Regions from separate parts of the Homo sapiens genome. Here regions 1, 3, 4 and 5 are each linked to region 2. The links are contacts of gene promoters, found by promoter capture Hi-C in blood cells and fetal thymus (Javierre and others, 2016). All regions are on one chromosome and are shown on one strand. The core of a region is centred on a gene start or on the middle of the fragment in contact, and the rest is flanking DNA. Distances in the headings are between cores, read along the strand shown.

Region 1 (4,595 bases), core at 849-3,348, 340 kb before region 2:
AAAATATAACACCATCTTATATGCAAGACAATGAGATAATAATATTCAATAGTGGGAAAGTAAAGGGAACTAAGTGAATTGAACCTCAACTGAGGTAGAAATATGTAGAAATATGTTGATACCAATAGACTGTGATAAGTCACAAATGCATATTTTAGTAACCTGAGCAACCAGTATGAAAGCTATACAAAAAGATAACTAAAAAATGCTATCAATCAGTCAATCAAAGTGGAATCCTAAAAACAACGTGCAAGTAACTTACAGGAAGGCGAGAAAAGTTGACATGAAATTTAACATCTTTAGGTAATCCCATAATTTTGAGTTAAAAATGAATTATGGAAAAACTCAACACTAAGTGGCTTGAGACAATGTGTAAGGAAACAGTAAATTGGGAGCTAAGAAGCTTGGCTTTAGTAATAATTGATTTAATATAGATTAATAAATTCAATCCTGAGTAAAAACTTAGCGATATAATTTTGTCATTACTAATCTAATTGGAATAAAGGCATGTATTACTTTTTTTTTTTTGAGACAGAATCTCACTTGTGTTACCCAGGCTGGAGTGCAATGCTGTGATCTCAGCTCACTGCAACCTCCGCCTTCCAGGTTTCAGCAATTCTCCTGCCTCAGCCTCCCAAGTAGCGGGATTACAGATGCCCACCACCACACCCGGCTAATTTTTGTAATTTTAGTAGAGACAGGGTTTCACCATGTTGGCCAGGCCGGTCTTGAATTCCTGACCTCAGGTGATCTGCCTGCCTTGGCCTCCCAAAGTGCTGGTATTACAGGTGTGAGCCACCGTGCCTGGCCCAAGCATGTATTACTTTCTACAGCAAAGGAGGTAACTGAGCTTGAATTATTACATCTTAAGATTAAAGCTACAAGAATGTTTTTTTAAAAAATTAGCTTTAATTTTAGCATAATTTTAAATCTACAGAGAAATTGCAAAGATAGTACAGAGAGTTCCTGTATATCTTACACCCAGTGTCTCCTATTATTATAACATGACATTTTACATCATAATTAATGAATCAACATTAATATAGCATTACTAAGTAAACTCCATACTTTATTTCAATTTGATTAGCTTTTTCTTAAAGTTCTTATTTTTCCTTCAATAACTCATCCAGGATACCACATTTATAGGAGTCCTTTGAAAATGAATACTTAACTATCCTGGCTAACATGGTGAAACCCCATCTCTACTAAAAATACAAAAAATTAGCCGGGTGTGGTGGCGGGCACCTGTAGTCCCAGCTACTTGAGAGGCTGAGGCAGAAGAATGGTATGAATCCAGGAGGCGGAGGTTGCAGCGAGCCGAGATCGCACTACTGCACTCCAGCCTGGGCGACAGAGCGAGACTCCGTCTCAAAAAAAAAAAAAAAAAAAAAATAGAAAATGAATACTTAATGGCTAAACTTCATATCTTGGAAGAAATTTTATGTTCAGAGATGGAGCTATTATGTTACTACAGAGGGAATCTTGTGGGAAGGCTATTAGGGGACTTGTCTTGAAGCTGTTCTTTCCCGGCAAGCCCTCTGTTTATTATGAGTATTATGAGTGGTTTTTTGTAGTGTGGGTGCTGATGCCAAAGCTCCTCCAAGCCACTTTTTGGCATGGTCAGCATATTAACCCACAGTCATTAGTGCATGAACACGATCTTCCTCAGCCATAGTAAATTCACACTACTACCCCAGGCTTTGTGCAGTGGGAGGGACCTCTACAGAAGGAGAAGTTGTTGCATGGCTTGTTTTTCCATGCAACATGCACATCCTCTTATCATCGGGGTTTGCCTTCAAATGTGTCCAGAATCCAACTACTTTTCTGTACCTTCACTATTTCCATATGAGGTCCCCTACGAGCCGTTATCATTTTTTGTCTGAGCATAAACGGTTTCCTGACTAGTGTCCCTGATTCTGCCCTGGCAACTCCATAGTCTGTTCTCAACACAGTGACCTGAGAGACTCTTAAAATTTAAGTTGGCTCCTGTCACTTCTCGCTCGAAACCATCTAACAGCCCTCCCATCTCACACTTGTTTGTTGTTGTTCTCATACTTATTTTTTTAAACCAAAGTTTTTATTGCAAAGTAACATACGTACAGAAAGCGTACAGAGCCTCTGTGTAGCACTCATGAAATGATTAAAATTGACTACACCTGTATAACCACCACCCAGGTAAGGAAATAGACCAACTGTTGGGAAACCCCACGTGCTGTCATTCAATCAATACTCCCACTTGTCTCTCCAAAGGGAACCACTACGCTGTCTTCTAGATTAGGTAAGCCTGTTTTTGAATTTTGTGGAAATAGAATTACAGTATGTGTTGTTTCTTATCTGGCTTCTTTTCCTCACTGTTATGTTTGTGAGATTTTTCCATGTTGTGCCATCTCACGCTTTTTTAAAAGCCCAAATCTCCTCCAAGGTGTCTGGCGTCCAGAACTCTATAGCACCTTGGCCCCAATTCCCACCCTCCCTTGGCTTTCTGATCCAATTTCCTACTGTTATTCCCTCTCATGTCCTCTGTTCTAGCCTCATTGGCCTTCTTGTTCTTCTCAAACTCACCAGGCATGCCCCTGCCACAGGGCCTTTGCACTTACCATTTCTACTGCCTAGAGAGCTCTGTCTGAAGGTATCCCCATGGCTGGCTCCACAGACTCTGTCAGGTCTCTGCTCAAGTGCTGTCTTCTCTGTCAGGAGGTGATGCCTTACCTGACCATCCACACACTCCCTAGCCCCCTCCCCTGTTTGAATTTTCTCCGCAGCACTTACCACCCTACTATATATGTGTTAGTTTCCCATTGTTGTCAAAACAAAATATCACACATTTAGTGGCTTAAAACAACACAAGTTCATTGTCTCAGGGTCCCACAGATTGGAAGACCAGTAGGCTAGGCTCCCTTCTTCGTTCTGGGTCTCACCAGGCTGACATCAAGATGTCACCTGCCCTGGCTCTTATCTGGAGGCTCTAAGTAAGAATCTGCTTCTAGGCTTATTCAGGTTGTTGAAAGAATTCAGAATTAAGACGGGGGTTGCTATTTTCTTGCTGGCTTCCAGAGGTTGCCTGTATTCCCTGGCCTGTGGCCTCTTCCCCTTCAAAACCAGGGGCAAAAATCATGAGGGCCAACATCCTGCCTACCACAGTATACATTCCTAGTTATTTTGTTTACTATCCATTTCCCCATCTAGAATCTATGTGGACAGGGATTTCTGTTTGGTATCCCAAAACCTAGACCACTGCCTGGCACATAGGCATGGAAAGATGTGTTGAATGAATGAATGAAGACTGGGTAATTAGCCTTTCTCTTCTTTTTAAAAAGCTGTCAGTGACTTTCATTTTAACCTGATTTTACCACCAGTGTGCTTTTCCCTGGCTCCACATGCCACTGGTTACGGCTTTGCTAGTTAAGGGGATTACTAACAGGATAATGTCATATTTTTATGTTACCTCCTAGTGACACAGAGACACATCCTGGACAGGAGGTACAGAGTGGGGTCACAAAATGGACTGAAGCTCAGAGGCCAGCACAGGCCAGGGAGCCTCATGCACCCCAGTTAACTAAGTGTCCAATCATTTCTTGGAATAAAACTCTTCAGGGATAGTAAAACTAGTCATGGAAATGTGTTAAGCATTGTTTTGCTCAGAAAAAAAATTGAAGACTTAGTCTGCACATGTTAATTACTCAATGAAAATTTCACAAACGATTTAATCATCTGGATGTCTCGAAATATTCTGTTGCTTAATATTATGTAGACAGCCTAAATCCTAGGGTCATAGAGATCTGAGCTTGTGTGAAAAGCTTGAAACACGTACAAGTAACAGATTTGCTATTTGGGTTATGGTGTGGAAAAAAATCTCTGGAAACAGATTTATGTATTAGTTTTTCACTTTGCCACCAGATGTCCTTCATGAGTAGGAAAATATGATGACTTGAATGATATTTTGAAGTGTGAATGCCCAGCATTTTTGAGTAGACAGTGAAAGCGGAGTGTGACTGAATGTAAATGTTACCACAGACTTTTGGATGAGACAGGTCTTTTGAAGGCTGTCTTACAGGTGTAGCTTTCAGAAGCAATACTTATTTCACTTGCAAATTTTCATTTCTCATACTTTACAACCATTTATCTATTTTCTTTTCACTCAACTCTAAATCGATATTTTAAAAATTTGATCGAATTATTATACTTTGAAATTAACATTAAGAAGTACTCAGGTCCTTATGCTAATAGTAAAGATAAAAAGTTGGTCTTTGGAGTGGAACGTCTCAATAATTCAAGGAGGCTAGACCTCAGTCTTTTAAACATGACAGCTACACAGTTTACAAGATTTTTTTTTTTTTTTTTTGAGACAGGGTCTTGCTGTCACCCAGGCTGGAGTGCAGTGGTGTGATCTGGTGATCTGGGCTCACTGTAACCTCCACCTCCCTGGCTCAAGCGATCCTCCCACCTCAACCTCCTGAGGAGCTGGAACTACAGGCGTGCACCACCACACCCGGCTAATTTTTGTATTTTTTTTTTTTTTTTTTTTTTGTAGAAACAAGGTCTTACTAGGTTGCCCAGCCTGATCTCGAGCTCCTGGGCTCAAGTGATCTGCCTGC
Region 2 (4,490 bases), core at 1,393-3,892:
AACAGCAGTTTGAGAAGTTACTGCTTAAAGCACAATAAACCAATTATACATGTACAAAACTACAGTAATAGGAAACAAGATGGCATGTTCATGCATCACTGTCGCTGGAACATAGTATGTAAGGTAGAGTAGCAGGTGGTTATGCTAGAAAAGCAGGAGCCAGGTCACAGAACAATGCTTGGACTTTATCCTGTGGACAGAAATAGTATCAAAGGTTTTAAAAAGTGAAATAATGTTAGATTCCTCTGGCAGCAGGGTGAAAACTGGATTTGACTTCGTTGATAAAGCAGGCAAACCTGTCAGAAAGAATCGACATTTATGAGGTAAACATCTAGGTAACGTCTAAAAGATGGGGTCACTGAATGTGGAACCTGTAAGAAAGGAAATAGCCAAGGATAATCCTTAAGTTTTAATTTGACTGCTTGCATAATTGGTGATGTCTCAATTGAGGAAAAAATTACAGAAAATGAGTCTGAAAAACTCAGACCCATCAATCTCTAAAATCCCTTTTTTTCCCCCACTATATCTCATTTTATAGATTAAAAAAACCTCAGATCAACAGACATTAAATACCCTAGAGCAGGCACCAGAACTTATGTATCCTGCTGTTTAGTATGGAACTTATCCCATTAAAAACAACAATTTTTACGTCTTCATCATTTTTACTTTGTATATTTTATGAACACATGAACTAAAATCCGATTTTAAAACTGGGGAATTTCTCTTCTGTATAATAACACACTAACAATTAGGGAAGTACTTTTATAAAATAAGTTTAAATACTCACTTCAAATTCTTTTACAAAATAACGAGTTTCACCTTGAATAACTGGTCTGTGATCCAAAAGCCTTGAATGAATTTCTCCAAGATCTATAAAGATAAAATGAAATTCAGGGTTAATCCATGCTAAATGGCATAATCTCTAGCTTGTTTTACTCTCTCCCTTCCCCACTAAGAGATGAAGGTTAAAATCCAGTTTAGACTATGGACTAAGAAGAAATCTCATCCACTGCCAGTGGATGTGTACACTGATACAACTACTTTTGAGAACAATCTTTCAGTATTCAATAAAGTTGCAGACATGTATACCTAGCATTTTCATGCCTAGGTATGTACCCTGGAAAACTCTTGCACAAATGAGTAAGGCCATTTATACATATTTATTACAGCATAGGTGTAATATCAAAAGAAAAAACGCAAAACACCTTAACCATACTCATACAATGGAATTCTATCAATCACCAAGTAAAAATAAATACATCAGAGTTACACTTATCAACATAAATATAAAAAATAATACGTATTTTATAATAAATATAATAAAAAAGCAAGTTTCAGAAGGATTAAAGCAATTTACATAAAACTTTAAAATATTCAAAATATTTCCTTTTGGGATATAGACAGAAGCAACAAAACTATAAAGAAATGCACAAGAATAATAAACACCAAATTCTGGATAGTGGCTACCTTGAGACGAGGGAGGGGAACTAGTGCAATTAGAGCAAGACACAGTGGGGCTTTTAGTAATTTATTTATTAAGGTGGGTGGTGAATGTTCATTGTAAGTCTCTTTTTCATAAGTCTGAAAAAGTCATTAAGAAAAGGTCTGAATTTAAGTCTTTTGGTGAGTCAGTTTATTATTCTTCTTAGTTACAACTATGTAGTTTAAAATGTAAGTCTCAAAATTCCTTGAGAAATTAAATCTAAGACAATGTATTATTCATATTCATTCACTGGCAATGTTCCCCAAATTTTTCATTTTTGCAGACATACGATGGGCAGGTTTCAATTCTCTATTTTAATGAATTTTATTAGTACATATCTTCTTAAGCATGTCAAGTAGAAAAAATAATACAAGCACTGTATATAAGCACTTTATATCTGGTATATATAAAGCACTACAACTCAACTGTCAAAGACTTTCACGCAGCAAACAGCGTTGTGAGCTTTAGGAGTCAAACCTAAAGCAGATTCTGTGAGAATCTAGGTTGTAACCTTCTCCCAGCTCAAAGCACACAGAACACATGGACATTTCTGAACGTGAATGGTTCTTTACAGTGCTATAGAGCGCCTTCGTAAGTGTATCTCACTTACTCCTCGCACGACCAGGAACAGATCGGGTAGGAGAGTGAGTAAAGCCAGTGACCCGAAGTCACTCAACTCCTAAGCGACTGCCTCCCGCCTCCCAGGTCCAATGCCCTTTCCACTACACGTCGGTGGCGAGGCTGCCCAAAGGCTCTGCGCCCAGGGGTCCTGAGCTTGCGGAATGGACGGGGGCGGGCCTGATGGCTCAGGCTGCGACAGAGGAAAGCGGGGAAACACGAAGAGTTGGGCTGGTTGGTTGTGGTGGGACGCATTTGGCGCGGGGAAAAAGGCGGGGACCGACCACGACTCCCCCACCCGCACAAACGCACGCGCGCCAGCCCGGGACCCGGGGGTCGGCCCGGGTCAGAGGGCGCCGCCTGGGAGATGAGGCTGTGCTGGGATCCACCAGGAACTATAGCCCTGACACTCCGTACCCTTGATAATGAGGTGCGCTGAGCCCGCAGTCCCCAGGGAGTCCCTCTTCTTGCTGCCACCGCCCGGGGCGGCCTCACAACCCACAGGGGTCTCTGTCCCTCCGCCACTCATCCCGACCAGTTCCGCCCACCCGCGGCCACGCTGCGCCTGCGCAAACCCGGCCGCCCTCTTACAAGGCGCGCCCGGGTTTTTTTTGTGTGTGTGTCATTACAGGGCGCCGGAGAAATTTAATCTACCCAGCGGGCGGTTCCGGAAAGGCGCCTGCCGTGTAGTCAGGCTGTGAACTGGCAGAAGCTCTTGCCGCCATGCTGGATCAGGGCGGATGCTGCTAGAATAGGAAGGTGCTTGAACTTTGGAGCTAAACTCAGAGCCCTGGTTATTTGGCTCAAAGCTGGTGCATTCCAGTACAGTTGTCCTCCCATATCTGCTGAGAATACATTCCAAGACCCCCAGTAGATTCCTGAAACTGCATATAGTACTGAACCATGTATATACTATGTTTTTTCCTGTATATACATATGATAAAGTTTATAAATTAGGCACAGTAAGAGATGAACAATTAGAACAATTTAATAAAAGTTATGTGAATGTAGTCTCTCTCCCAAAATATCTTATTGTACCGTCCTGCGGGTAATGAAACCACAGAAAGTGAAACCTCAGATAAGGGGGGACTACTGTATAGCAAAGCCAATTAGCTGGGGGCTGTTTCCCTACTATGCCATGAGTGTGGCTGACTATTCCTGCCTTTCTTTTTAGACACCTGTTTCCTAGAATGCTTCTCTTGCTCCCTCTTTCTGTTCAAGTCAGTAAACTCACGTTGTATAATAAAGAATTTGACTGGACTTTGACTCTGGTTCCTGGGAGGTACCCTCAATCCTTAGAATTTCCCAAGTGATAGAAGTGTCTTTGTTATTCATGGTGGGCCTCTGGAAATACACCTGAGTTTATGCTAATGAGATGGCTCATGGAGGGCCCAAGATGATTTCAGAATGGAGGCTGGCCACACCAGAAGGGCCGGCCAACCATGAGGGCTTAGGCTTTGAGTCACATAAGCAGGCCCACCTCTGGGGAGCAGATTGGGGCTGGAGACTGAGTTCAGCCATGTGGCCAGTGATTTAACCAACTATGCCTACATAATGGAACCCCAGTGAGTACTCTGGATGTGGAAGCTCAGGTGAGCTTACTGGTCGATAATCATTCATCAAAGTGTCAGGAGGGGGAAGCGTTCCTGAGGACACGTAAGCTTCTATTTGGGAAATCTCCCACATCTCGCCCTATACATCTCTTCATTTGGCTGGTCCTGATATGTGTCCTTTATAATAAAACTGTAATAGCAAGGAAAGCACTTTCTTGAGTTCTATGAGTCATTCTGTGAAACCTGAGGGAGTAAAGCGAATAGCAATGAAACATCATGTGTAGAGAGAAGCTGCGTGGGTGAGAACTGAGGCACCCTAGCAGACAGTGCTCAGGCCCTGGGCATATGACAGAGACAGCTGGTCAGAAGTGCAGGTGGCCTGGGAACCCCAAAGCTTGTGGCAGGTGTCTGAAGGGGAGTCTTGAGGAGGACCATGCTTTGACCTCTGAAGTCTGTGCTAACTTCGGATAGCACTGCAGTTTAACAAACACTTACATGGCACTTGCTACATGCCAGGTAATACTGTAAGTGGTCTACAAATTTGCATTCATTTAATCCTCATGGCCGGCCTTTGAAGTAGTTATTATTAATGTCCTCATTTACAGACGAGGAGGCTGAGGCACAGAGAGGTTAAATGACTGCCTGACTTGTATGTGGCAGAAACAACTGCCTCTGTGTCTCTGTGTATGTGTTTAAGCATAGGTGGTGGGTGAAGAGAGAGTGGGGAAGGGAGATTTGGAGAGAAGGGAGAGAGAAGCCATATTAACTTTAACAGGCCACATGGGCTTTTCATTTTTTCATTCAAAAACATTTAACAAATACGTTATTGAGCAGCT
Region 3 (4,596 bases), core at 1,693-4,192, 360 kb before region 2:
TCTGAGTTGCGTCAGCACACTTCCCCAAATCCCACTGCAGGCGGAGGATGATGAAGCTTTCCTTTCTGGGGTGTTTGTTTTACGTAAGTAGTGACTTACTTTTCAGAGGTAAAAAAAAAAAAAAAATCTGTGTTGATATATGTCTCCCTCAAACCAAAAATAGGACTGGGGATTGATTTAAACGTTTGCAGTTCCCCATTTGAAGATGACAGAAAGCCCATATCGACTGGTTCTGCCTTTGTTTTTGTTTTTCACTAATTTATATTCACAAAATGAAGCCATAAGCTTAGACCTCACCGAATGGAAAACAGGCATGGACTTCAGCAGGCAATATATTAGCATATTTATCAACATCCTTTAGATTTTTGCTTTCATTTTTTAAATTACCATGTAAACTTGAAGATAACCCCAGTTTTCCCATTTGTGGGAACATAAGAAAGGGAGATGAAAAAAAATAATATTTGTCCCTTATCTATGAAGTGCTTTTATTTTTTAAATTTTTTTTATTACCTGAAGAACTACATTATCGTCAATATGAAGTGCTGTTTTTTTAAGCATTATGATTAGACTTAAGGATTCTAAGGACTAAAGTATTAAGGTGTTTTTTGTTGTTATTTGCTAATCATTAATCAACTGTTTTACCTGATTAATTTTCTCTTTGGGAAAATAGATTGAGATTGTGATCTGGGAGACCAAAGTAGACATTACTTTATCAATGAAGAAGGACCTTAAGGTTAACGAAACAAAAAGTTGGCCAGGTGAGGTGGCTCACGCCTGTAATCCCAGCACTTTGGGAGGCAGAGGTGGGTGGATCACGAGGTCAGGAGTTCAACACAATCCTGGCCAACATGGTGAAACCCCGTCTCTACTAAAAATACAAAATTAGCTGGGTACGGAGGCACACACCTGCAGTCCCAGCTACTCAGGAGGCTGAGGCAGGAGAATTGCTTGTACCTAGGAGGCGGAGGTTGCAGTGAGCTGAGATCATGCCAGTGCACTCCAGCCTGTGTGATGGAGCAAGACTCCGTCTCAAAAAAAAAAAAAAAGAAAAAAAAATTTTACCTATGGATTGAGAGCTTAGGGCCCAGCTGGCCTTGCGAATTTCTAAATTCCTGTAAGAAAATCCACACTCTTGCTAAACTCCCTAACAATAGGAGCTATTGGGCAAATTATCCTAACTCCAATTTGCAATCCAGACCACTACTATTCTGATTGGACAGAGGACAGGCCTTACAAACATTCTTTTCTGATGAGCAATTGCAGACCTTAAGCCAGTTTCAGCCAGCTTATAGAGGCTGCACACACACTGTCTTTGTGTCCTATAGTTCACCTTTTGCCCCAAAGTGAATATGGGATGTATATTACATGTTTGTTTATTCATTGCTCCTGTGCTTGGCTCTCCTCATAAATATGTATAGCTTCTACCCCAAACCTGCTGAATACGTATGACTCTATTGTGTAATACAGACTCTCAGAGGAATGAGACCCAACCTGTCCTTCCCCTGTTTGAAGAGAGAGCATCTTTGGTCCATGCTGGAGACTTTCTCTTCCAGCTTGCAACTGATATCACCAATAAAGCTCTTCTTTCTACTATTTAGTCATCCTGGTGGTCTTTTGGATTATAAGTTTTTGTGTCCCATAGTTATACCCATTGCTTAAGCTTGCCATATAGAAAATGCCATTCATAGACACAGCTCTTCATTTGAGTACTTAAAGGTAAGTTTAAAATGTGGAAACAGGCTGGGCACAGTGGCTCACGCCTGTAATCACAGCACTTTGGGAGGCTGAGGCTGGTGGATCACCTGAGGTCAGGAGTTCAAGATCAGCCTGGCCAACGTGGTGAAAACCCATCTCTACCAAAAATACAAAAATTAGCTGGGCATGGTGGCACGCACCTGTAATCCCAGCTACTCAGCAGGCTGAGGCAGAAGAATCACTTGAACCTGGGAGTCGAAGATGGCAGTGAGCTGAGATCATGCCATTGCACTCCAGCCTGGGTGACAGAGCGAGAATCCATCTCAAAAAAAAAAAAAAAAAAAAAAAAAGTGGAAACACCATTTTGGAGGTTTTCTTTCAATAACAAAGATGTTGCCCAAAAGGAAATACATTTCTACGATACCCTTTGGGTGTGACAGGGAATTTTATACACCTCCATAAGGAAAGTGTATAACATTCTTGGGAGCTACCTTCAAGCATTTACTGTACAGGGAAAATGGAAGATGGTCTACTGAATGAGTGTCTCACTGTGGATTGGTCCAGGAACCAGTTCAGCACATGGTAGCAGCTATTCCTTTTTAAAGTAAACTGATGGAACTTTTGTTTCCTTTTGTTTCCTGAAACCTTTTGTTTCCTGATTCTCTTGTTTTTGGCAAATTCTTACTTGAAAATATTTTTGAACTAGAATGTTTTGAGCTCGGAGAACCTGCAGAAACCATCTTATTTATGGATGCAGAAGGTAGCACAGAAAGGTTAAGGAACTTACCTAAAGTTACACAGCTAATTTGTGGCAAAAGTGGGATTCACTTCCAGGTTTAGTATGTCATTTGAATCACGTCATAACCTGCTTTGGAGAACAAATTGATCTAAAGAATTGACTGTTCCAAAGAATTTGGTTTATAAATCTTAAAATCATTTAGATCACAAAATGTCATGAGAGAAAACACTGAGAATATAGAGAAATGTTCAGAATATTAGAACAAATTGAAGTTGTACCTATTTCAAGAAAAATAAAATCTTTCCTATATCTTTATGTGTATAATGATTTTTAGATTATTTTTTAAATTGCCAAAATTCAATTTGGCAAAGCAGTGAACTTTGAAACACATGTTAATAAACTGAAGTTTTATTTACTGATTTTCTATAAACAAATAAACACTGAAATGTTATCTATAATAATGAATATTCTTGTGTTCCTGGAACACATTGAAATATTGTGTTGTAATAAAATAAAAATTACAGTGCTGTAGAGGTTAGCATTGGAGGTTAACGTATTATTTCGATGTATAAAATATAGTATTGAACAAAACAGACATAAATCAGCATATGGTGGGATTCCATTCATATGAAATGCAAAAATGGGTGTATTAGTCTGTTCTCACATGGCTATAAGGAGATACCTGAACCTGGATAATTTATAAAGAAAAAAGGTTTAATTGGCTCACAGTTTTGTAGGCTGTACAGGAAGCATGGCTGAGGAGGCCTCAGGAAACTTACAATCATGGTGGACGGTGAAGGGGAAGCAGGCTTATCTTATATGGACAGAGAAGGAGGAAGAGAGTGAAGTGGGAGGTGCTACCCACTTTTAAACCACCAGATCTTCTGAGAACTCACTGTCACGAGAAGAGCAAATTGGGAAATCTGCCCCTTTGATCCAGTCATCTCCCACGAGGCCCCTCCTCCAACACTGGGGATTTCAGCTCAACATGAGATTTGGGCAGGGATGAAAATCCAAACCCTAACAATGGGCAAAACCAATTTAGACTGTTACAAGTCAGGATGGTGGCTGTTCTTGGGATGGGTTCCCGGAATTGCTGGAACTGGGTGTGAGGGGCTGGTCATGTTTCTTGATCTAGGTTCTGGTTACATATGTGTGTTCAGTTTGTGAAAGTTTATCAAATTGTGCATTACTACCTATGTAGTTTTCTGAATATATATTATACTTCAATAAAATGTTTTAAAAATATGTATATCATATATCATTTCATCTTAGAAACAGAACACGTTAATAAGTGACTAGTTTTTGGAAGAAATTATTATAGCATAAGTTTTAAAAAAAGATGTTGGGGTGGGGTTTTTAACTTTCCATAATGCTGTAAAGTTTGCAACACTCACACAGTCATAGAACAAATAGAACTTTGACTTTGGTTTCAAAATTTATGCAGCTGCCTCCATATACTTTTGACAGTTTAATCACATATTTAACAGTTACAAAGCATGTTTTAGACATCAAGAGGATACATGGAGATGGTGGTAGGGCTTATATACCCATGGTCGTGTAAAACAGGAAAAATGTCAGCAAAAATAAACTATTATGCTGGTCTATTGAGTGACTTTGTCAGCTTTATAAAGGAATGAATATATAGTGTTGAAGGATAATCTTTCTGAATTAGTAAGTTATTTTTTAAAAAGCACATCTAAATCAATACCTTATTTTAGAAGAAATGTAATGTTAGGCATACTAACATGTATAAAACATAGTTTTTGAAAGAAACAGCTGATACCCTTTAAAGCTTACAGAAGACTAGAAATAATCTGACTTCCAAATGCTCCCCTCTTTGGTTGAAGCAGGAATATTCTATGAGGCATTTAAGGGAAGAGAAGCAGGGATTGTGAGTAAAAAGGGTGTGGACAATTTCCTCAAGTGAAACTTGCTTGGATAATCGGTGGCTGAACTAAAAAATTCACTTATTTAGACTTTTTACCAGTTTCATAACTAAGTTCTTCTCCAAGGGAGGCTGATGTATATTTATGTAACCATATTTTAGGGCTTAAAAAGTTCACAATTTAAAAAGACTCCTGCAAGGAAACAGGCCCTATTTTTTCTCCCAAATACCCTGAACTTTGGAGCTAGATAGCTTCTTAGTCTAACTGTTACAA
Region 4 (4,281 bases), core at 1,047-3,546, 350 kb after region 2:
AGGCCTAAAAAGCTTATTTAAAGTGTACCTCTCATACTTGAAATGCAACAAAACTGAAAGTTTCAGTTACAGGTTAAAAGCATATAAAGGCAGTACTTTCTTTGGAGGTCGTCATCTCATCATAATTTTATAGAAAGTTCTTTTAATGCGTTTAAGGGTTACTGTTCTGATAAATGTATATGTTTGATTTTAAAATTAAACCATCAAAATAAGAAATTAAGATCAAACAACATTTTCTTTAGAATTCTAAAGAAACACCATAAGCCAAAGAATAAATTGGTGAAATATGATAATTTTCTTTTTAATATAAAGGAGATGTTGCCCTTATGTTTTGAAAAAGAGCATCAGAGAAAATGTAAATGCTTATTTTATAATCAAAGCAAGTAAATCCCTCCTACCTGTTACAGCAATAAGTGCACCAAAAATTTTAATCAAAGCCAGAACAAAGGAGATTCCAAAATATCCAGTGAGGGAAAAAAGGAACGCATAACCATAGGTCCGAACTGGATTCTGCAAAAAATAAAAAAGCCTGTTAGAAAAATGTAAAACAAACTCCGAGGTATTACAAATAAAATAAAACTACAGATGTTAATCAACTTCTTGAGCAATAAGTTGTTTGACAATGCAGTCAAGCAAAGATTCTTATTTTGATTTAATGAAAAAAAAATGTTGAAATTAAAGATCCTCAACTTTCCTACATTATGAACAGCTTAAAAATCAACTCATAGGGTACAGCAAGGATAAAATAAATTTAAATATCAGTCATTTCATTTCTGAAATTAATTTCCGATTGGCATGTTATGTTAAAGGAGGTATCATTATATCTATGATAGCCTCTTTTGAACAAGGGAAATGAGAAATTTAGAGAAAATTATTTAACAGAAGATTTTTTTTTTTAAATGTGATTAGTGTTTACCTTTGCACAAAATGTTACTGCAGGGCCTAATCCACTAGTGCATGTCAATCCCAGTAAAATGTATACAAAACCAATTGAATACGAATACAATACCTAGAGCAGATAAAAATAAAGCAGAAAAAAGTACTATGAAACTGAAAATGGAAGATTAAGGGTTTTAACTCTATGGCTCAATTAGGTTTGCAGAACAAACATTTTAAAAGAAACATTATAATTTCAATATGGCCTAAATTTCCAGAAATGTTATTTGATTCTAATGTTTTATAAGTCTATGCCTCATTTTATGTACAAAATAACACCTAGTAATATTAATCCTTTCATATATGCTTACATATTCATTTCTTTCTAGGCTTAATTATTGAAATCAACCAGATTTTCATATTAGAGTTCTAAAAAAAATAAATGAAACAAAACAAAAAGCTTTAAAGATACTTATAAAACATAAAAAAATTAAGTTTCTAAAATACATTAAAATATAATGAAAATAAGCAGCATATGGCATATCTACTGCTTAACTTCTCTATTTTCCAACCAACCTTTTAATCCCAATTTACTATGCTTTTCATAAACAGAATCAGCAGCAGCAGCAGCAGCAGCAAACCTAAATATCTGCTGTGTGTCAGGTACTGTGTTGAAGCTCGGTACGGATTATTCCATTTACTTCTCACAACCACCCTAGATATGGGTATTCTTAGTTATCATAATCCAATTTCCAGATGAAGAAACTATAACTTAGAGATATTAAGTAATTTTCCCCAAATGAGTGCTAGTAAAGCCAGGATATGAACTGAGCTATCTTATTCCAGAGCCTACCATCATAAACACTGCATTATATTAACTTTCTAACAACCTACACTCCCTCAATTCTCTCTGTGCCCATCCTTACCTTATCTACAATGAGTAGTGATTATGATGAAGAAAATTCTTAACCAAGTTCCTGTGTTATTAGAGACTACCTAAGTTGCCCCATTCTGTGTCAAGAAAATAACAGGAAAGAATAGTCCTGTCTATCCTTAATTCAGTATGCTCTTTCTGTCCAGCAAGGTGGTTGGTTATAAAATTAATGTAAACACACACACACACACACACATACACACACATAATTTTCCTATATAAAAACCAGTTACAAGATATACAAAAAGACACTACTTGCAAAAAAAAAAAACAGTTACAAGAGATACAGAAAGATATTATTTGCAATAACCACAAAAAGATGAAATAACTTTAATAAGTTATTATTAACAATACCTTTAATAAGAAATGTGCTGGATTTACATGAAGAAAACTTTAAACTCTAATGGACATTGAAAAAAAGACCACTTGAGTAAAAGAAAAGTCATACCTTATTCTTGGACTGAAATAATCAAGATGCCATTCTCCCTAAATTAATTTATAATTCAATGCCATACCAATCACAATACCAATGGGATTTTTAGTTTATTTGGGAATATAAACACCCCAGAATAACTACTGGTAGTAATATTCTGCAAAAGAAAAGGAACAATGGTAGCTAGTCCTAACAGATAATAAATGTCTGATAAAGCTGCTGTCATTATATGTACTATTGCAAAAATAAATTCAAATACAATTCTGAATGCCACACAAGAGTGTGATATGATAAAGAGGGCATTTAAAATGAGCTGAAAGTGGATTATTCAATAAATGATATTAGAAAAAATGGTAGTCATTTGAAAGAAAAGTTCTTTTAAAAAAGTTTTAGATTGGATCAAGGGCTTAATAAAAAAGGAAATCACAAAACTAGTAGGCAACAGGGATGAAATGTTCTAAATCTCAGGGTTAGGAAAGCTCTTTTCAACCATGATACTTAGCCAGAAGCCAGCAAGGAAAAGACAAATTGGGCCATATAAAAATTACAAACTTCTACATGGAAAAATACTACCCACTAGAAAGAGATGAGAGAAAGGATATAACAAAAGATTTTATTTTAATACATAAAAAACTAAATCAATGAGGAAAAAATTTGTCAACTATGCAACAAGCGGTTAGCACTGCTAGTTGTAGTTTTAGTTTTTACCTTCCTATAATGTTTGAATGTATTACTTTTGTAAAAATGAGTTTAAAAATGCAATGCTAGTTATAATAATTATTTCATCAAATTACGTGTATCACCATTTTTTAAATCTGTCTAATTTGAAGAAAAAACACTAGAGTATTTACCATTTCAGAATTAGAAGCATTATGAAGTTTCATAGCTTTCTCTTGAACATTTCCAATGACGGCATCTGCACATAGTGCCAGGGAAATAAGCACCACACCTTCAAGAAGGTATTAAAAAAACAAACAAAAAAACCCTCCTTATTTAAACATATGAACTATAATCAAGCTTTATCAGAAATTTCATTGGTCTAAAAAACAAAAGCAGATCTTCAACTACATTTGTTCGGTAATCCAGAATATTCTTATTCACAATCGGTTGTAACAAGTACATATGTGATGATATTAAAAAAGATATACTAATAAACTGAGTTAGTTCTGTACATATCACATTTCACATTTCAATAGCGTATTAAATAACAGTTCCATAAATATTCTACTAGTCTAATAGTTCCACTAGTTCTGAAAGTGTAGAAGAAACTCTTAGGATATCTATCTATTGGGATTGGTGGCTATTCAGTTAATTAAAAAAAAAAAAAACAGATGAAGAGAAAAGTCATTTTTGAAAAACCCTATTATTACTAAAATGTTTAATTTAAATCACATAAACAGGCACGCTGCTGTCAGGGCCTTTTTCTTTGAGCATGGGTCCTGAATAGAATTCCATATTTTCTCCTTTGTATAAACACACTCAGCACACATTTTCCATGATTTCCAAGGTGTTTTTGTTTAAAAGTGCCCTGCAGAGTACAGAATCCTTTCATATGTTTATGAGCTTCCCTCCAATATTCACAGTGGTTTTACCCACACCTCATTCAATAGTGATTTTATTGCTTGTCAATCAAGTTGTGTCAGTTAACTCAGTTTTCACAAAAACAATTATTTGTTCATATTCATTTTTGAATAACGTAATACTGAGTTACGACATAATTATAATAAAGGTACAACTGACATAAACAAATCTGAGTCAACACTTCATTCCTGAGAAGCATCAAAATGCATGCACACTAAAAAACAAACAAATTGTTTTATCTACAGAGCTGTGATATTTTCACTACATCTTATATGGAAAGTCCAAAAGCTTTATGTTAGATATGAAAATTGCAGCTGTCACACTATCATTTAAAATGCTTACAAAATATTCGAAATTCGTATTCTAAACTAAAAAGCCTATAAAAGCTAGGAATATAAATAAATTACTTACCCGTCAGGTTGAAATTTGGTGCAGTTGTGCTGTCAGCGAGGGTAAA
Region 5 (4,017 bases), core at 1,292-3,791, 380 kb after region 2:
AATTTTTGGGAGGTGTTTTTATGTATTTTAGGATGTCCTAGATAATCAAGTCATGTGACTTGGGGGAGCGAGAAAGAGAAACCAGCAGTGGAGACTTAGAAGAAGCAGCTGTTGACATAGGATGGGTCCAGGAATGTACAGTCTTCTAAAAGCCAGGTGAAGACAATGTTTAAAGGAGGAAGGAGTGATCAACAATGTCAGTTCGTGTCAATTGGTGTTACTTAGTCATGTGTCTGTGAAGAATCATCTTGCATAGTTAAGTCTCAGGTTCTAGTGTCAGATTAAATTTAAATCCTTGCACCACCCCTTGCTCTTTGAGTGTCTTTGTGCAAATTGCTTAAATTCTCTAAGTCTCAATCTCCCCATCTGTGAAATGGGAATGACAGTAGTACCTATGTGGTAAATTGTAGTGATGAGTAAGTGAAAGATGTTTAAAGATGGTTAAATGGTTAGCACAACACCTATTACCTGACAAACACTTAGTAAAAGTTAGCTATTAATATTCTTATTAATATAGCCTACTATCATTAGAATAATCCATTTATATATAGTCATCAGTTGTCACTTTTCTAGCTCTTCCATAAGGAATAGGTTATATAGCATTTCCAAACTAGGAAGTTCATTGATAGATATATGGTTCCAGATGCACTGAGCAGAAAAACTAGTTAATTTGATTTTCATTAAATATCCATTTAATAAATACTTATTGAGCACTTACTCTGCATGCTACTGGGTATTGTGGATATGTGGATGACAAGACAGACATGGATCCCTGCCCTCACAAAGCTCACAGCCTTGTGTGGTGGAGATAATTAATTACACAAGTAATTATAGTGTGATTTGTGTTGATAAGGGTATTAACTACAGGATGCAATGGGAGCTATAGGCTATGCTAATGAGGCTGTGGTTATAGATTCAGTTCCCCTGTAGGTTGCTTGACTTCCAGGGCTATCAGTTTTTCTCTGCTGTCTCCTAAATGGATAGAGGTTCACAGAACTGGGCCACCTGGACACCAGCCATGACTCCTCTTCTTTCCCAGTACTGATAATTGGCATGGGGCAAAATTCTTCATAAAGAGGTAGCATGTGTAATGAGATGGAGAAATATTTTGCTCGTTTAACACCTGGCTTTTGAATCCCTTTTTGGTCAAAGTTTCTGTGTTTTGTTTTCTTTTTGTAAGAAGTAATTCGATTAGCCTCTTAGAAGATTATTCTTAAACTGCCTTCCATGGAGGGTTAGTCTTATTAACATGAAGTTCTTTTTATTTCCAGAACAGTGCTGTCCAATAGGAATATAATATAAGCCATGGAAGCTACTTTAAATTTTCTGCTAGTTACATTAAAAAGGTGAAATGAGGCCGGGTGTGGTGGCTCATGCCTCTAATCCCAGCACTTTGGGAGGCCAAGGCAGGCGAATCACTTGAGGTCAGGAGTTCAAGACCAGCCTGGCCAACATGGTGAAACCCCATCTCTACTAAAAATAAAAAAAAATTAACAGGGCGTGGTGGCGGGCACCTGTAATCCCAGCTGCTCAGGAGGCTGAGGCAGGAGAATGGCTTGAACCAGCGAGGCAGAGGTTCCAGTGAGCTGAGATCATGCCACTGCAGTCCAGCCTGGGCAACAGAGTGAGTCTCTGTCTCAAAAAAAAAAAAAAAAAAGGTGATATTAATTTTAATAATATATTTATTTAACTCAATATAACCAAAATATTATCATTTCAACATGCAATCAATATAAAAAGTTGTTAATGAAATACTTTAACATCTGTTTTTTTATACAAAATCTTGGAAATCCAGTGTGTATTTCACACTTCCAGCATATTTTGGTTTGGACCAGCCACATTTCAAGTGCTCAGAGTAGCACATATGACTACTATCTACCACTCAGGACAATGGAATTTTAGAGCACTTTAATTCTTGTTCACCACTTGGAAGGTGATGAAGTTTAAAGTGCTAGAGAAAATCCAGGCTGGGCGCAGTGGCTCACATTGCCTGTAATCCCAGTACTTTGGAAGGTCAAGGCAGGCAGATCTCTTGATTCCAGGAGTTCAAGACCAGTCTGGGTAACATGGCAAAACCCTGCCTCTAGAAAACAAACAAACAAACAAAACAAAAATAAAATCAGCTGAGTGTGGTGATGCATGCCCATAGTCCCAGCTACTCAGGAGGCTGAGGTGGGAGGATCCCTTGAGCTTGGGAGGCGGAGGTTGCAGTGATCCCAGATCACACCACTGCACTCCAGCCTGGGTGACAGAGTGAGACCTGTCTCAAAAAAAAAAAAAAGAAAAAAGAAGGAAAGAAAGAAAGAACAAACAAATGAAGGAGGGAGAGAATAAAGGGAATCACCAGTGTGGTATGGCTGAGAAGGGAGCTTTTGGGAGACTATAGGTTCTGTATCTAACTGGAGTATTTAAGTTGTTTTATGGAGGCTGTGATTTATAATTCCACCACTTCATATTCTTAAAAAGCTTCAGTAAATCTGCATTGTTCATTAATGCCCTGCATAGGTGCATTATTTCAGATGAATTTAAAGAAGGCTAAATTCTGTGGCCAGGTGGGTGTGGAGTAAAAATAAAGATGGCTCCCAGGGATGTAGGAGCAAGTGGGTGGGAACTGCTAAAGCTTGTTTTTACGTAAGATAAGCATTTAACTTCCTCCACTCCTCTACTGTGAAGTCTTGAAGGGTTTATGTCACTAATTGTTCAACCTAAATAAACATTTATTAGGCCTGTTCTCTACAGCTGCAATTAGAACTTTTGAGAACCAGCTGCATTTTGCAACTTTGTTCTTTCTTGACTTCTGTACTGCTGCACTGACTGGTTCTCCTACCTCACTGTTCCTTGTCCTGTCCTCAAAATGTTCATGTTTCAGTCTCTGTTTTCCTGATCTTTTGTATAAACTCCTCTTCAGGAAATCAATTTAATTTAAGATTACGGACTTGTCCTCTATATCTGTGTAATTAACTGCTCACCTATGCTTTATTCTCATTTTTCAAACTGCTTGTTAGCGACATTGGATGCAGTGATATAACCCTGTAGTCATCCTAAGTGTGAACTCAGTTTCTTTCACAAATCAGTATTTTCCCTCCTCCTTTCTTTTCCTTTCAATAAAACTCTAATTATTTGTTATCACTATTTCTTTTTCTCCGTCCTTTCTAGAGGTTGAGTATCTCTTATGTGAAATGTATGGGACCAGAAGTGTTTCACAGATTTTAGATTTTTTAAAAATTTTGGAATATTTGCATATACATAATAAGATATCTTGAGGCTGGGGCCCAAGTCTAAACACAAAATTCATTTATGCCTTATAAATACCTTATACACATAGCCTGAAGGTAATTTTAAACAATATTTTTAATAGCTTTGTACATGAAACGAAGTTTGTGTTAAGTACTTATGTGTGGAATTTCCCACTTGTGATATTATGTCAGTGCTCAAAAGTTTTGGATTTTGGAGCATTTCAGATTTCAGATTTTCAGATTAGGGATGTTTAATTGTATTAGTTTACTTTGGTCCGTCTTGTGTATATAAGTAACTGTATTAGCTTTCTATTGCTGCTATAACAAATTACCACAAGCTTAGTGGCTTGAAGACCACACAGTTTTTTTATTTTACAGTTCTATAGGACAGAATTTCAAAGTGGGTTTTGGGTGGGTACAGTGGCTCATGCCTATAATCGTAGAGCTTTGGGAGGCTGAGGTGGGAGGATAGCTTGAGGACAATAGTTTGAGATCAGCCTGAGTAGCATAGAGAGTAGAGTAGAGTAACATCTCTACTAAATACATACATACATACATTACATACAAACATAATGAGCCTCACTGGGATGTAATCAAATGGTCAACAGTGCTGCATTCCTTTTGAAGCGGCTATGTTGTCTGGGGTATATACCTGGGGTTCGTAGTCTTGCACCAGGAAAACTTAGGACACAGACACACATGAAGAGTTTAGGGGTGGAGGCTTAATAGGCAGAAGAAAAGAGAAAGAAAAACAGCTCTCTCTATAGAGAGGGGTCTTCTG

Evidence for each region. The method cuts DNA at HindIII sites, captures the fragments that hold promoters and counts their contacts. A CHiCAGO score of 5 or more calls a contact.
Region 1: a fragment that was not itself captured here is called in contact with the fragment with the promoter of BLOC1S5 in region 2 in 16 of 17 cell types (M2 macrophages, megakaryocytes, naive B cells and 13 more); the score reaches 19.9 in M2 macrophages.
Region 3: a contact is called between a fragment that was not itself captured here and the fragment with the promoter of BLOC1S5 in region 2, in 4 of 17 cell types (M2 macrophages, M1 macrophages, megakaryocytes and 1 more). The highest score is 6.8, in M2 macrophages.
Region 4: a contact is called between a fragment that was not itself captured here and the fragment with the promoter of BLOC1S5 in region 2, in 1 of 17 cell types (naive CD8 T cells). The highest score is 5.1, in naive CD8 T cells.
Region 5: a contact is called between a fragment that was not itself captured here and the fragment with the promoter of BLOC1S5 in region 2, in 6 of 17 cell types (non-activated CD4 T cells, total CD8 T cells, naive CD8 T cells and 3 more). The highest score is 10.9, in non-activated CD4 T cells.

What each region holds. Positions count from the first base shown.
Region 1 is chr6:7,717,943-7,722,537 of GRCh38, forward strand. No RefSeq gene overlaps it. Among named protein-coding and RNA genes, the nearest start is that of BMP6, 5.9 kb to the right of the region's middle. The HindIII fragment of the contact is 3,394 bases long and covers 402-3,795 here.
Region 2 is chr6:8,061,747-8,066,236 of GRCh38, forward strand. BLOC1S5 (biogenesis of lysosomal organelles complex 1 subunit 5) reads right to left here and starts at 2,643. Exons shown (of 5, transcript NM_201280.3): 1 at 2,519-2,643; 2 at 788-870. The coding sequence starts at 2,630. It overlaps BLOC1S5-TXNDC5 (BLOC1S5-TXNDC5 readthrough (NMD candidate)), which reads right to left and starts at 2,668. Exons shown (of 13, transcript NR_037616.1): 1 at 2,519-2,668; 2 at 788-870. EEF1E1-BLOC1S5 (EEF1E1-BLOC1S5 readthrough (NMD candidate)) reads right to left here. Exons shown (of 7, transcript NR_037618.1): 4 at 788-870. RefSeq lists enhancers at 1,851-2,477, 2,087-2,276, 3,967-4,066, 4,077-4,226. The HindIII fragment of the contact is 8,031 bases long and covers 1-3,760 here.
Region 3 is chr6:7,698,390-7,702,985 of GRCh38, forward strand. LOC105374906 (a long non-coding RNA gene) reads left to right here. Exons shown (of 4, transcript XR_926437.4): 4 at 1-1,593. Among named protein-coding and RNA genes, the nearest start is that of BMP6, 25 kb to the right of the region's middle. RefSeq lists an enhancer at 1-181. The HindIII fragment of the contact is 2,569 bases long and covers 1,659-4,227 here.
Region 4 is chr6:8,416,486-8,420,766 of GRCh38, forward strand. It overlaps SLC35B3 (solute carrier family 35 member B3), which reads right to left. Exons shown (of 10, transcript NM_001370479.2): 5 at 4,236-4,281; 6 at 3,095-3,192; 7 at 917-1,009; 8 at 399-510. Among named protein-coding and RNA genes, the nearest start is that of SLC35B3, 17 kb to the right of the region's middle. The HindIII fragment of the contact is 1,924 bases long and covers 1,335-3,258 here.
Region 5 is chr6:8,439,729-8,443,745 of GRCh38, forward strand. All of the region lies in intron 2 of LOC100506207 (a long non-coding RNA gene), which reads left to right. Among named protein-coding and RNA genes, the nearest start is that of SLC35B3, 6.2 kb to the left of the region's middle. The HindIII fragment of the contact is 154 bases long and covers 2,465-2,618 here.